Regions from separate parts of the Homo sapiens genome. Here region 2 is linked to region 1. Evidence: promoter capture Hi-C in 16 types of primary human blood cells and fetal thymus (Javierre and others, 2016). All regions are on one chromosome and are shown on one strand. Each heading gives the region's core, a stretch centred on a gene start or on the middle of the fragment in contact. The rest is flanking DNA. Distances are from core to core; before and after follow the strand shown. Region 1 holds the start of ACADS (acyl-CoA dehydrogenase short chain). Region 2 has its middle 14 kb from the start of POP5.

What was found. The method cuts DNA at HindIII sites, captures the fragments that hold promoters and counts their contacts. A CHiCAGO score of 5 or more calls a contact.
Region 2: a contact is called between a fragment that was not itself captured here and the fragment with the promoter of ACADS in region 1, in 2 of 17 cell types (M0 macrophages and endothelial precursors). The highest score is 6.5, in M0 macrophages.

Annotation. Positions count from the first base shown.
Region 1 is chr12:120,722,750-120,729,896 of GRCh38, forward strand. It overlaps ACADS (acyl-CoA dehydrogenase short chain), which reads left to right and starts at 3,077. Exons shown (of 10, transcript NM_000017.4): 1 at 3,077-3,182; 2 at 4,277-4,440. The coding sequence starts at 3,137. UNC119B (unc-119 lipid binding chaperone B) reads left to right here. Exons shown (of 5, transcript NM_001080533.3): 5 at 1-891. It overlaps MIR4700 (microRNA 4700), which reads left to right and starts at 444; the gene lies at 444-517. RefSeq lists an enhancer at 2,749-3,250 and a silencer at 2,887-3,396. The HindIII fragment of the contact is 22,347 bases long and covers 2,395-7,147 here.
Region 2 is chr12:120,591,890-120,598,433 of GRCh38, forward strand. It overlaps the pseudogene RPL11P5. Among named protein-coding and RNA genes, the nearest start is that of POP5, 14 kb to the left of the region's middle. RefSeq lists enhancers at 1-581, 5,166-5,666. The HindIII fragment of the contact is 9,227 bases long and covers 76-6,544 here.

The DNA of each region.
Region 1 (7,147 bases), core at 1,827-4,326:
CAAAGAAGATCCGAGTTTATTTCATTCTATGTTTTAAGAGGTAAAAGGACATAACAAGTGAAAGAAGTTTTGGGCTAAAGTAGGCTATGTCTCCTTATGTATTACTCAATACTGTTTTGCAGAGAAAACATTTTTCAAGCATGTGCTTCCTGAAGACACCTCAGTCTTTGGGCCATTTGATTTCCAATACATAGGGTGGAAGAATGTGATTTTGGGGCTGACCATAAACTGGAAATTTGTGAAATGGCAGTGATTGGGCAATCTTCAGTTTATTTTTTCAGTTGAAGTGGAACTCATTTCTGGAATGGATTTAATAGGCTGTGTCTAATGTACAAACTGGGTGAGTCCTGCCTTAGTGTGTCCTGCCCCACCGGTACGCTTCCAGGATACTCTTTTCCCCTCTGTAAAGTCACTTTCTTCTGATGGCCAGTGTCACTATGATGTCAGTGAGGTCTGGGGATGAGGACAGTGTGTCCTGAAATTCACAGGACTGACTCCTCACCCCAGTGCACGAGGATTCCTGTGGCATCAGGTGCTGCTGTACCTGGTGTAGGAGCCTAATCATTGAACCATTGTGTTACTCACATTCCATGTCACAGAACATATCAGCCTCAAGAAGGATTTGGTGGAGGTGGATTTACCACTGGTTTTACAAAGGACCGTGTAAAGTCATTGAAGTTGTGAAAGTCTATTTTTTTTCCTGTAAATCTATTTTTTACAGAATATAAGAAACATCAATGACCTGATCTGTCCTTCCTCCTCCTTCCCGCTTCCCCCAAAATCACATTCCAGTTTTTATTGTCTTTGTGTCCAAAGTAAACTAGGTGACTTATTTGTATAAAATGTTATTTTGCCACATGAGACAGTAATAAAAGAAAGATTTTCACAGTACGTCTCCCTCGTCCTGTCTCCTGATTGTTGGGCCCGTTGTGTTGCTGAGGGGAGCAGGGGCGAATGGGGGCTCCAGGTTTCTCTTACTTTGGCTATTATGTGGCCCTTCTGTAAGTAGTTGAACTAGAGTATAGCTGGCTTCTAGGGTGATTGAGGAATTGTACTGGACTTTAGGCTTAATATTTTTGCTTTATATTTTCCCAGGGTGAGTGGCTTTGTAAATTGAAAGTTTACATGCATGTTTTAAAGGTAGGGTTTTTTTTTTTGAGATGGAGTTTCGCTCTTTTTTCCCAGGCTGGGATGTGATGGCATGATGGTGGCTCACTGCACCCTTCGCCTCCCGGGTTCAAGTGATTGTCCTGCCTCAGCCTCCCAAGTAGCTGGGATTACAAGTGCATGCCACCACGCCCGGCTAATTCTGTATTTTTGGTAGAGACAGGGTTTCCCCATGTTGGCCAGGCTGGTCTTGAACTCCTGACCTCAGGTGATCAACCCGCCTTGGCCTCCCAAAGTTCTGGGATTACAGGTGTGAGCCACTGTGGCTGGCCATAAAGGTAGGCTTATTAAGAAATACTTTAACTACAGTAAAATTTACCTCAATTAAGAGTATTGATGCATTTTGACAAATGAATACTTTTATTACCCATCACAATCATGATATAGGACATTTCCATCGTACCCACTCAGAAAGTTCCTGAGTTCCTTGTGTTTGCAGCCAGGTGACTTCCCCCACTTCGCCTCTTGCAACCACTATCTGATTCTGTCTCTATTGGAAAACTTGGATACTTTTAAAATGAAATTTGAACGTTCATATTTACAGTCACAAATTCTCAAGAGTCTGGTTTAGATGCTCTGTGGCACCTGAAGCAATTATTGGCCTTTGCTCACAAACACAACTCACTTATTTCTCCCTTTTCTCCTGCTTCTTCATCGTTTCTTCCACCCAGGGCTGGTTCCCAGGTGGGATGACGGAAAGGTGAGGAAGCCCTTAGAGCATTTGCCAATGGGAGCCATTCATTTGACTTTAAAGTACTGAGAATTTAGAGGCGTTCTTTTAAATGCATTATTTAAAAAGAAAGGTAACACATTAAGGACTTTGCTGCATCTTTTGATTGGCTTTCTTCTAGGAAGTAGTGACCGAGGTTTCCACTTTCCTCCAAGAGGAAGAGACAGAAGTTTTGGCAAATAGGTCAATGCTGGGAACAGATGCCTGCCTGGCTGAGTGCTGGGAAAGAAAGGCAGTTGGAGGGATGTGTGGGTGCCTGGGAGGGCGTGGGTGGTGCCCAGGAGGCTATGGGAATCAGAATCACACTTGCACAAGAGAAGACCCTTATGGGACAAGTAAAATCAGCATAGTTTCTTGGGCGGGGCAAAGGTGTCCTGATGAGGATGCTAGGGGTCAAATATGTGTCTGGGTTCTGCCCCAATCGGGAATGAGACACAGTACTGAAGTGGAACGGGGGTAGCATCTCCACCCACCTTCACAGCCTCTGGGGAAAAGAAAGCTTTCCTTGCAGCCCAACTCCAGGGGCCTAAATATTGAGCACCAACACAAGACAGGTCCTTGAGCTTCTCGGAGCGAGTCGGGGAAGCAGATAATTTCAGATGCAAAGTGCCTTGAATAAACAGAACGAAAGATAGAGAGCCAGAGGGGGAGAAACGGCTTGGTGTGGTCAGGGCAGGCATCCATGAGACCTAAACGAAGAGGGGGCATTCCAGACAAAAGGAACAGTGATCACAGAGGCCCCGAGTCAGGAACCAGCTAAGGGTCTTAGAGAAGAGCTGCCTCGTAAAGCTAAGCAACAATAACCAGGGAACGGTGGGCATGGGCCCTGATAGACAAGGCAGGTCTTGGCTTTTTAAGCCATAGAATTGGATTTTAGGAGGGATGGGCCCGCCGACAAAGCCAACAAAGTTTTAACCCGAAGATCGCTATCTTATTTATGCTTTAAAAAGACCTCTCTGGCCTTTCTGCGAAGCTCTATCCTTAGCTTTCTCTTGTTAGCATTTTGATTAACGAATGTGGGCACGAACAGCCAGCTGACCGACCGCGCGCGCAGTCGAGCGTCGGTTCCTCGCCTTGGGAGGGACCACTGGAGGCCCCGCCCCCTGGCCGCGAGCGCACCTCGGCCCCGCTCCCGAGGCCCTACGGGCGTGGCCTCTGTCCCGGGTCCCGCCCCCCAGCACTCCGGAACAGCGCGCTCGCAGCGGGAGGTCGCGAAGCCTGGGACTGTGTCTGTCGCCCATGGCCGCCGCGCTGCTCGCCCGGGCCTCGGGCCCTGCCCGCAGAGGTGAGTGCGCTGGGGATCCGTACGGCGGGGCTTCAGCCCGCGTCTGGCCCAGCGGGCGGAGGTCCTGGCGGCCGGCTCTGTCAGAGCCGCTGGCAGGCGGAGCCCCACTCCGGGAGCGCTCACGGCCTTTGCCCCAGTTCTGCTGCTCCTTGCGCCGACCCAGCCCGGCCCTTCAGGCGTCCCTGGTTCCTGCACAGACCCCTACCCCCCGATTGACCCCAGCCACCAGCCCAGTTCCCAGTTCCCATATCTCCCTCCCTTCATTTCACCCCCACTAGAGGTTCAGGGTGCGTCCTTCTTCCGGAGCCAGGCCTGGGATTGAACCAGACCCGCATCTGTGACCTTGGGCAAGACAGCCCCTCCTCAGCCTCGGTTGGCCCATGTGTAAAATGTCCACAGAGAAAATCAGAGTTGTTGGGAGGATTAAATCATAGGGTATGTAAAGCACTTCGTGCCTGGCGTGTAACAGGTGTTCCACAAATGCTCGTTCTTGCTGGTTAATACAGTACCTTTCCCATCTTACGTGTCTCCAGTTGTAGCAGCCGTGACACATATAGCCACGGCTTCCTTTGCCTGGCCTGAATTACAAGGGGAACGCTACTGAGAACTGTGTTAAGCGCTAGTTAGTCTTTCTTTCGCACTCCGAGGAGCGGAATACTATTCGCCTCCACTTGTTATAGAAACGGAGGCTCACTGACGTTTAAAACCCTTGCCTAAGGTCACAGAGCTGAGGTCTTATTACTGTTGGTATTATACTGAGGACTGAAGGATGTAGTGTATGGAAATGTCTAGTGAGTGTACTAAGCATTCAGTTAGTATGGGGTTTTCAGTGGCCGCCATGGACATTTTGGGCTGACAGTTCTTTGTTGTGGGGGCTGTCCTCTGCCTTGTTGGATGTTCAGCAGGGATCCCGGACCCCTATCCACTGGGTACCAATAGTATTCCCCTGCTCTAGTTGTGACAACTAGAACTGGCTCCAGACATTGCCAGATGTCCCTTGGAGGGCAAAATCCTCCCTGGTGAGTTAGTGGGTCACTAGGATTCTTGGAGACCTCCTGCCTCCTCCTTCCACTCACTTCTGCCCTTGCCGGCAGCTCTCTGTCCTAGGGCCTGGCGGCAGTTACACACCATCTACCAGTCTGTGGAACTGCCCGAGACACACCAGATGTTGCTCCAGACATGCCGGGACTTTGCCGAGAAGGAGTTGTTTCCCATTGCAGCCCAGGTGGATAAGGAACATCTCTTCCCAGCGGCTCAGGTGAGAGTGCAACCTCAGCAGCCCACGATAGTGGTCTGCCCTCTGCTACTGGATGAATGGTGGCAGTGACAGTCAGCGGCACTCGGACTCTGGTAGAGGAACCCCAAAGCAGGGCCTGGAACCCAGAAAATGCTCTGGAAGTTTCCCTTGTCCAGCCTGTGGCCAGTAGCCAGGACTTAACTTCTGGGACAACAGTAATATGTGGTGGATGGTCAGTTGCTTACTGTGCCAGCCACTGTGCTCATTCTAAATAGTGCCTTTAGGGTGTTTGGCATGCACTAGGCACTGTTCTTGAGATGGGTTATCTCATCTGTTCCTCACAACGGTCCTGTGAGGTGAAGGTACTATTCTTATTTATTTTTTTGAGACGGAGTTTCACTCTTGTGGCTCAGGCTGGAGTGCAATGGTGCGACCTCGCCTCACTGCAGCCTCTGCCTCCTGAGTTCAAGTGATTCTCCTGCCTCAGCCTCCCAAGTAGCTGGGATTATAGGCGTGCACTGCTCTGCCCCGCTACTTTTGTATTTTTAGTAAAGACGGCGTTTCACCATGTTGGCCAGGCTGGTCTCAAACTCCTGAATTCAGGTGATCTGCCCACCTCGGCCTCCCAAAGTGCTGGGATTACAGGTGTGAGACACCACGCCCGGCCAAAGGTAGTATTATTATATACCCCATGGACTCAGACTTGTGAACAAGTTAAATAACATACCCAAGGTCATGGAGCTCATCAGCGGCAGCCTGCTCGACCTATTTTCTTTTTTATTTACTTATTTTTTTTTGAAATGGACTCTCGCTCTGTTGCCCAGGCTGGAGGGCAGTGGCGCAATCTCAACGCACTGCACCCCTCTGCCTCCTGGGTTCAAGCAATTCTCCTGCCTCGGCCCCCAGTAGCTGGGATTACAGGCGGGCACCACCACGCCCAGCTAGTTTTTGTACTTTCAGTAGAGATGGGGTTTCTCCATGTTGGGCAGGCTGGTCTCAAACTCCTGACCTTAGGCGATCTGCCCGCCTTGGCGTCCCAAAGTGCTGGGATTACAGGCGTGAGCCACCGTGCCCGGCCTGCTTGAACTGTTTTCTCCCCTGAGTTTCCCATCAGCGCGCTCCCTCCCGTGCCACTGTGTTCTTCCATTTGCATTCAGTCTGTCTGCAGCTACGCGTTGAAGATGTTACTGCCGTACACGCTGACCTAAAGATGTCCAGCACCTGGTGTAAACACTCAGTAGTAGATAGTTGTTTAATTAATGATTTGTGAAAAGTCAAACCTCTCCGGCCTCTTCTCCTTGCCTGTTTTTTTTTTTAATTTTAATTTTAATTTATTTTTTATTTTTAAAAATTTTTTGAGACAGTCTTGCTCTGTCACCAGGTTGGAGTGCAGTGGCGCGATCTCGGCTCACTGCAACCTCCGCCTTCTGAGTTCAAACAATTGTTTCCTGCCTCAGCCTCCCGAGTAGCTGGGATTACAGGCGCACACCACCATACCCGGCTAATTTTATGTATTTTAGTAGAGACGGGGTTTCACCGTGTTGCCCAGGCTGGTCTCAAACTCCTGAGCTCAGGCAATCCACCCGCCTCGGCCTCGCAAAGTGCTGGGATTACAGGCGTGAGCCACCACACCCGGCCTTAAAAATGAGTTTTAAAAGGGACGTAAAACATTGTTTTTATATGAGGGACCCACTAACCGTTTCCCAGATATGAAGGCAGCAGGTGCTGCAGGCTTGCCTTGTCTGTCACTGCTGGGAAAGGGGTCTTACAGTTTCTTACGGTTTCTCTTGGGAGTCTGGAGACCACCAGGCTCAGCCTCATCAGTGCTGTTGCCTCTTCTCAGGGTGCAGGTCAGGGTTGCTGGGTCACAGACACTAGGAACCAAGAGTGACCATTGCAGGGGGCTCTAGGAGGCCACCCCTTGAGATAGCTCTGAAGGTCAGGCCTCTCTGTAGAAAATACTAAAATATTGGGGCTGGGACGGGCGCCTGGCTGCTGTTAGTTAATTACCATCAATTTACATAGGTCAGAAACGATGGACAAACCCGAACCCATTTTTTTCCCTTGACTGCTTCTCTTTTTCTTTTTTCTTTTTTTTTTTTTTTTTGAGATGGAGTCTCACTCTGTCCCCCAGGCTGGAGTGCAGTGGTGCGATCTTGGCTCACTGCAGCCTCTGTCTCCCAGGTTCAAGTGATTATCCTGCCTCAGCCTCCCAGGTAGCTGGTACTACAGGTGCCCGCCACCATGCCTGGCTAATTTTTGTATTTTTAGTAGAGATGGGGTTTCACCATGTTGGCCAGGCTGGTCTTGAACTCCTGACCTCAGGTGACCTGGCTGCCTCAGCCTCCCAAACTGCTGGGATTACAGGTGTGAGCCACTGCTTAATTATATTTTGGGTTTCTCCTTTTTGACTGTCTCGTCTCTTCCCTCTCCTGCCACCCCTTTTTCCTTCCCTCGGTGCTGGTCTCCCTGTCTCTTTTTCAGGAGGCCCTTTAACGAGTGCACATTACCATGGTTATTGCTTTTGTCCCCACTTTTTTTCTAGAATGTTCCTGTAGCTGGCCACAGTTTGTTGCCTGAAATCTAGAGATAAATTTCAGAGTGAGAAGGCCTGGGAAACAGCCCCTGTCACCACTGATAAAATGGGGTGAGGTGACTGTGTCCAGGCTCTGGGATGGGATGGAGAAGGCTGTGCTCTTAGGTGCTGCCCCAGAGCGGTGCTCCTCTC
Region 2 (6,544 bases), core at 3,439-5,938, 130 kb before region 1:
CCTCAGGGCCTTGTTGGGCACACTGAATGCTTGGATACTGAGTGGACGGCTGAGAGAATGAGATCGGGAGCTGGAAGCTTCCCTTTGGCTGCAGGGAAGAATAGACCTCAGGCGGCTGGACTGGAGGTAGGGACCCTGGGGAGGAAGCTGCTGCCTGGAGGGAGACGAGAGACTTGGATGAGGGTGGTGGGGATAGAGAGAAACGGGTGGCTTTGTAAAGTGTTTACAGGTAGAACTGGTTACCTCTTGCTGCACGATAAATCACCCCAAAACTGTGTGCCTTAAAACAACAACACTGTTTTTTTCTCATGATTCTGTAGGGTGAGAGGGCAGTTCTGCATCACGTGGGGTTGCTGGGATGGCAGGAAGGTCCCAAGTGGCCTCACCCACGTGGCTGGCAGTCATTGTTGGCTGCCGGCTGGGTGCTCAGTTAGGGCTGTTGGTTGGGGGGAGCCTCAGCTTAGTGCATTCACAATGTTGAGCAACCACCACCTCTTCCTAGTTTCACACTTTCCTATCACTCCATACCCATATGGCAATCTCTCCCCATCCTCCCTCCCCCCAGCCGCTGACAACCATGAATCTGCTTTCTGTCTCTATGGGTGTACCTATTCCAGACATTTCAGATCCATGGAATCATACAATATGTGACCTCTGGTGTCTGGCTGCTTTCAGTTAGCATGATGTTGTCAGGGTTCACCCATGTTGTAGCATGCGCCAGCACTTCATTCCTTTTTATGGCTGAATAATATTCCATTGTATGGCTAGACCACAATTTGTTTATCCATTAATCTGTTGATGGATATTTGGCTTGTTTCCACCTTTTGGCTCTTGGGAATAATGCTGCTATGAGCATTGGTGAACAAGGATCTGTTTGAGTCTCTGCTTTCAGTTCTTTAGGAATGGAATTTCTGTCATATGGTAACTCTATGTTTAACTTTTTGAGGAACTGCCAAACTGTTTCCCACAGCAGCTGCACCATTTTCCACTCCCAGCCGCAATGGATGAGTGCAATGGACTGAATGTTCATGTCCTCCCCAAAATCATATATTGAGATCCTCACCCATGAAGTGATGGCATTAGGAGGTGGGGCCTTCGGGAAGTAAACAGGCCATGAGAGTGGAGCCCTCATCAGTGGGATGAATGTGCTTAGAAAAGGGACCCCGGAGAACACTGTTGCCTTCTCTCCACCATGTGAGGGGACAATGAGAAGTCCACAGTCTTCAACCCAGAGGAAGGCCCTCACCAGAACCCGGCCATGCTGGCCACCGTGACCTCACACTTCCAGGGTCCAAAACTACGAGAAATACATTTCTGGTTTTTGTTGTTGTTGTTTCTTTTTGAAACGGGGTCTCACTCTGTTGCCCAGGCTGGAGTGCAGTGGCAGAGTCTCGGCTCACTGCAACCTCTGTCTCCTGGGTTCAAGCGATTCTCCTTCCTCAGTCTTCTGAGGAGCTGGGATTACAGGCCCCTGCCACCATGCCCGGCTACTTTTTGTATTTTTAGTAGAGATGGGGTTTTCCCATGTTGGCTAGGCTGGTATCAAACTCCTGTCCTCAAAAGATCCACCCTCCTCAGCCTCCCAAAGTGCTGGGATTACAGGCATTAGCCCCCGCGCCTGGCTGAATTTCTGTTGTTTATGAGCCATCCGGTCTACAGTACTTTGTTATAGCTGCCTGGATGGACTAACACAACAGAAGTGTCTATTTTTCCACATCCTTACCAACACTCGTTATTTCTGTTTGTTTGAGATGGAGTCTTGCTCTGTTGCCCAGGCTGGAGTGCAGTGGCACGATCTTGGTTCACTGCAACCTTCACCTCCCAGGTTCAAGCGATTCTCCAGCCTCAGCCTCCCCAGTAGCTGAGACTACAGGCGTGCGCCACTACGCCTGGCTAATTTTTATATTTTTAGTAGAGACGGGGTTTCACCATGTTGGCCAGGATGGTCTCGAACTCCTGACCTTAGGCGATTAGCCGGCCTCGGCCTCCCAAAGTGCTGGGATTACAGGCACGAGCCACCGCACCCAGCCAGCACTTGTTATTTCTCTCCCCACTTCTTATTTTATTTTGTTTTACATTTCCCTGAAAACTGTTTATTGGCTTTTTGGATAGAAACGGGAATTTATTTGCAAGGAAGCATGATCCCATCACACTTCTGTTGGAGCCAGTGCATGGTCTCCTCTTTGCTGATTCTGTGTTTGGCCCCAGTGCAGCCTGTCCTGTGCTTCTTGTCTGTGATGCCGAAACCCGGCCTACTCAGCACCGCAGAGAAGTCCAGGCCATAGACACCCACACTTGGGTCATATTTGATACCCAGATTGATGTGTTCCTGGATCCCAAAATCAAAGTTTCCAGTATCTGAGAAGTTATTTTTTCTCAACTCATACTCCCATACCTCTAGACCCTTCTCCAGGATTTCTTCTGCTTTGGCCTCTTGAACTATGCAGCGGACAGCATTTTCGGCTTTTCATTTTTCCGGATGTCAAACAATATGACAGTGTATCTGGCTTTGGAAAACACAGGGTCCGGGCTGCAAGCTGCTCCAATGCTTTGGCTGCAGGGATCAGTCTCTACTCTCCCCAACACAGATGTCGAGGCAGAGCTTGTGAATGCAAAGTTCCCACGTGGGGTTCTCCTTTTCACCTTCATCCTGTGCCATGATGGAGAACAGGAAGAGCTCTGCCCCCTTTTTAAAAATTAAGGCCATCCTAGTGGGTGATATCTTATTGTGGTTTTGATTTACATTTACTTAATGGCCAATGATGTTGAACATCTTTTTCATATGCTTTCTGGCCATTTGTTTATCTTCTTTGGAGAAATGTCTGTTCGCTTACTTGGCTCATTTTTTTTTTGTTGTTGTTGAGACAGAGTCTTGTCCTTGTTGTCCAGGCTGGAGTGCAGTGGCACGATCTCAGCTCATTGCATCCTCTGCCTCCCAGGTTCAAGCGATTCTCCTGCCTCAGTCTCCTGAGTAGCTTGGATTACAGGCACCCACCACTACGCCTGGCTAATTTTTGTATTTTTAGTAGAGACAGGGTTTCGCCATGTTGGCCAGGCTGGTCTCAAACGCCTGACCTCGTGATCTGCCCACCTCGGCCTCCCAAAGTGCTGGGGTTACAGGCGTGAGCCACCGCATCTGGCTCACTTGGCCCATTTTTTAGAAGGGTTGTTTGTCTTTTTGTTGTTGAGTTCTTTATATATTCTGGATACTAAATTCTTATCAGATATACGATGTGCAAATATTGCCTCCCATTCTGCAGGTTGCCTGTTTACTTTCTTGATAATGTTCTTTGATGCAGAAAAGTTTTTACTTTTCATGAAATCCAGTTTGTCTCTTTTTTCTTTTGTTTCTTGTGATTTCAGTGTCAAATTGAAGAATCTGTTGCTAAATCCTAGATCATGAAGATTTATCCCTGTGGTTTATTTTATTTTATTTATTTTATTTTTTCTGAGATGGAGTTCACTCTTATTGCCCAAGCTGAAGTGCAATAACACGATCTCGGCTCACGGCAACCTCCACTTCCCAGGTTCAAGTGATTCTCCTGCCTCAGCCTCCCGAGTAGCTGGGACTACAGGCGTGAGCCACCACACCTGGCCTTATGGTTTCTTTTAATTGTTCTATGGTATTAGCTCCTACCTTTATGTCATTGATCTATTTTTTGTTGTTGTGTGTTTGTTTTTGAGACAGGGTCTCACTCTGTCGCCCAGGCTGGAGTGCAGTGGTACAATCTTGACTCACTGCAGTCTCCACCTCCCGGTACAAGTGACTCTTGTGCCTCAGTCCCCCAAGTAGCTGGGACCACAGGTGTGTGCCACCATGCCTGGGCAGTTTTTGTACTTTTACTAGAGACGGGGTTTCACCATGTTGGCCAGGCTGGTCTCAAATTCCTAACCTCAGGTGATCTGCCCGTCTTGGCCTCCCAAAGTGCTGGGATTACAGGCGTGAACCACTGTGCCCAGCCTCAATCTCTACCTCTTGATGGGAGGTCAGCATGCCCTTATAGGGTGGCGGGGGAATGGTTGGGGGCCGTCTTTGGAGAGAGTCTACTACAGGAAGTTTTAGTAATCAGTTGGCTGTAAGAGGTTGGAGAGAAGAAGAACAGAAAAAGGCAGGCAGGGTATCATCCACATTTCTGGGTTGAGCCATTGGGCAGTTAGAGAAGCCTGGGGAGAAGCAAGAATGAGGTGAAGGAAATCAGTCACGGACATATTGAGTTTGAGCTCCTGTAGGCATCCAGGCCCCAGGAGCCCTGGGAATCAAATAAATGATAAACAAAACATGGAAGGGTACTTACAAGGGCTTATTTAACAAATATATTCAATAAATATTTATGGAACACTTTATGCTAATACTACCTAACATTTATGTGATGCTAGCCATGGGTCAGGTACTTTGCATTTAAAAAAAAATTGAGTTATGGCCGGGTGCAGTGGCTCACACCTGTAATCCCAGCATTTGGGGAGGCCGAGGCGGGCGGATCACGAGGTCAGGAGATCGAGACCATCTTGGCTAACACAGTGAAACCCCGTCTCTACTAAAAATACAAAAAATTAGCTGGGTGCGGTGGCGGGTGCCTGTAGTCCCAGCTACTCCGGAGGCTGAGGCAGAAGAATGGTGTGAACCCGGGAGGCGGAGCTTGCAGTGAGCCGAGATAGTGCCACTGCAGTCTGGCCTGGGCGAAAGAGCAAGACTCTGTTCTCAAAAAAAAAAAAAAATTGAGTTGTAACATACATACAGTAAAATGCATAAATCTACCGTGGTGGTGGTGTTATTTTTGAGATGGAATCTCAAGAATGAGATTCCAACAGAGTTGCCCAGGCTGGAGGGCAGTGGCATGATCTCGGCTCACCGCAATCTCTGCCTCCCAGGCTCAAGCGATTCTCCTGCCTCAGCCTCCCGAGTAGCTGGGATTACAGGCACCTGCCACCACGCCTGGCTAATTTTTGTATTTTTAGTAGAGATGGGGTTTTGCCATGTTGCCCAGGCTGGTCTCGAACTCCTGTGCTCAAGTCATCCACCCGCCTCAGCCTCCCAAAGTGCTGGGATTATAGGCATGAGCCACCCTACAATGTACATTTCATTGAATTTTATATATCACCTTGCAGGTAAAGATATAGAACATTTCCAGCCCCAGAAAGCCCCCTCTCAGCCATGTTATATTTAATTTTCACATTGACCCTATGAGGTAGGTAGTGTGATTATTCCCATTTTTCAGATGATGAAACTGAGACTTAGGTGAAGCGACTTTCCCAAAACCACATGGGGATAGAGTCTGGACTCTAATTTAGGTCTATATGACTAGGAACGTGGATCCCTTTCCAGCCCACCAAGATTTCTCCCTAAGGCCAGACTCTTGACTCTCAGACCCTCTGAGACCAAGCTGGGGAACACCCCATTCCCTCACTGAGCTGGGACTGGACTCAGACCTCTGGGGGGCACCCTGAGGGCAGGAGCTAGGTGGTCCAGCCTCCACTGGAGAATGGGAGCCCCTCATTTGTGGCTCTGTGGGAGGTACAGGGCCAGGGAGGATGTGGATTTAGGGTGAAGAGGGAAGAATGAGACGGGCCCTTCCATGTCCCCATCAGTCAGGGAGGGGGCCACCTGTGGGTGGTGCTGGCCGAGGCTACACGGCAGGTTGCAGCTGCACTCATTTCCCAGCAATGGGCCCCGGGGAAGATCAGCTTTGACCACGCCTCATCGACTTGATAGGGGAGAGGAGGGGAGCCACACCTGTCAGAACGACTTCAGGCCCTGCTTCCCAAGCATCCCTCAGACCTGCCGGGAGGCTCCTGGGAACGTCTCCTGGGCCTCCTTCAGGAGGACAGAGGAGGCTCCCCCCCAACCCCACGTGTCTGCCCCGCGCAACGCTCTGACCTCTTCTATCCTCTCCTCAAGTTAAAACTGACCTCCTCGCTCTTCTCCCAACCTGTGAAGCCCCTACTTGCCTCAGGGCCTTTGCACTCAATGTTCCCTCCATCTGGAACCTTCTGCTTCCTGGATTTTGCATGGCAGCCTCAGCCTTCTCATGCGTCCTGGCTCAAATGTCACCTCTTTAGAGGGCTATTCCCTGGACAAGTTGCCCTATTTAGTGCTCTCCTCACCAGCCAGCACAGTGGTGCCAGATGGCCTGGATTTGAATCACAGCTCCACCTGCTCCAATGCTGTGTGGCACTGGGCAGGTTACTTAACTTCTCTGTTAAGCCACAATTTCCTCAGCTGTAAGGTGGGAGTGGTGATTACAGCCTCATCGTGTGGTAGCAAGGATCAAATTATTTAACATCTGTTGGCAATGCCTGACCCATAGCAGATGCTTTACACGTATTAGCTTTTATTCATGTAAATGCTTATCCCATGCTGAAATGATTCTGGGTATTGATTTGTTTACTTCGTTTTTCCATCTCCCCCAATTAAAATGAGCCCCATGAGGCTGAGTGGGGTGGCTCACGCTTGTAATCCCAGTACTTTGGGAGGCCAAGGTGGTTGGATCACTTGAGGTCAGAAGTTTGAGACCAGCCTGGTCAACACGGTGAAACGCTGTCTCTA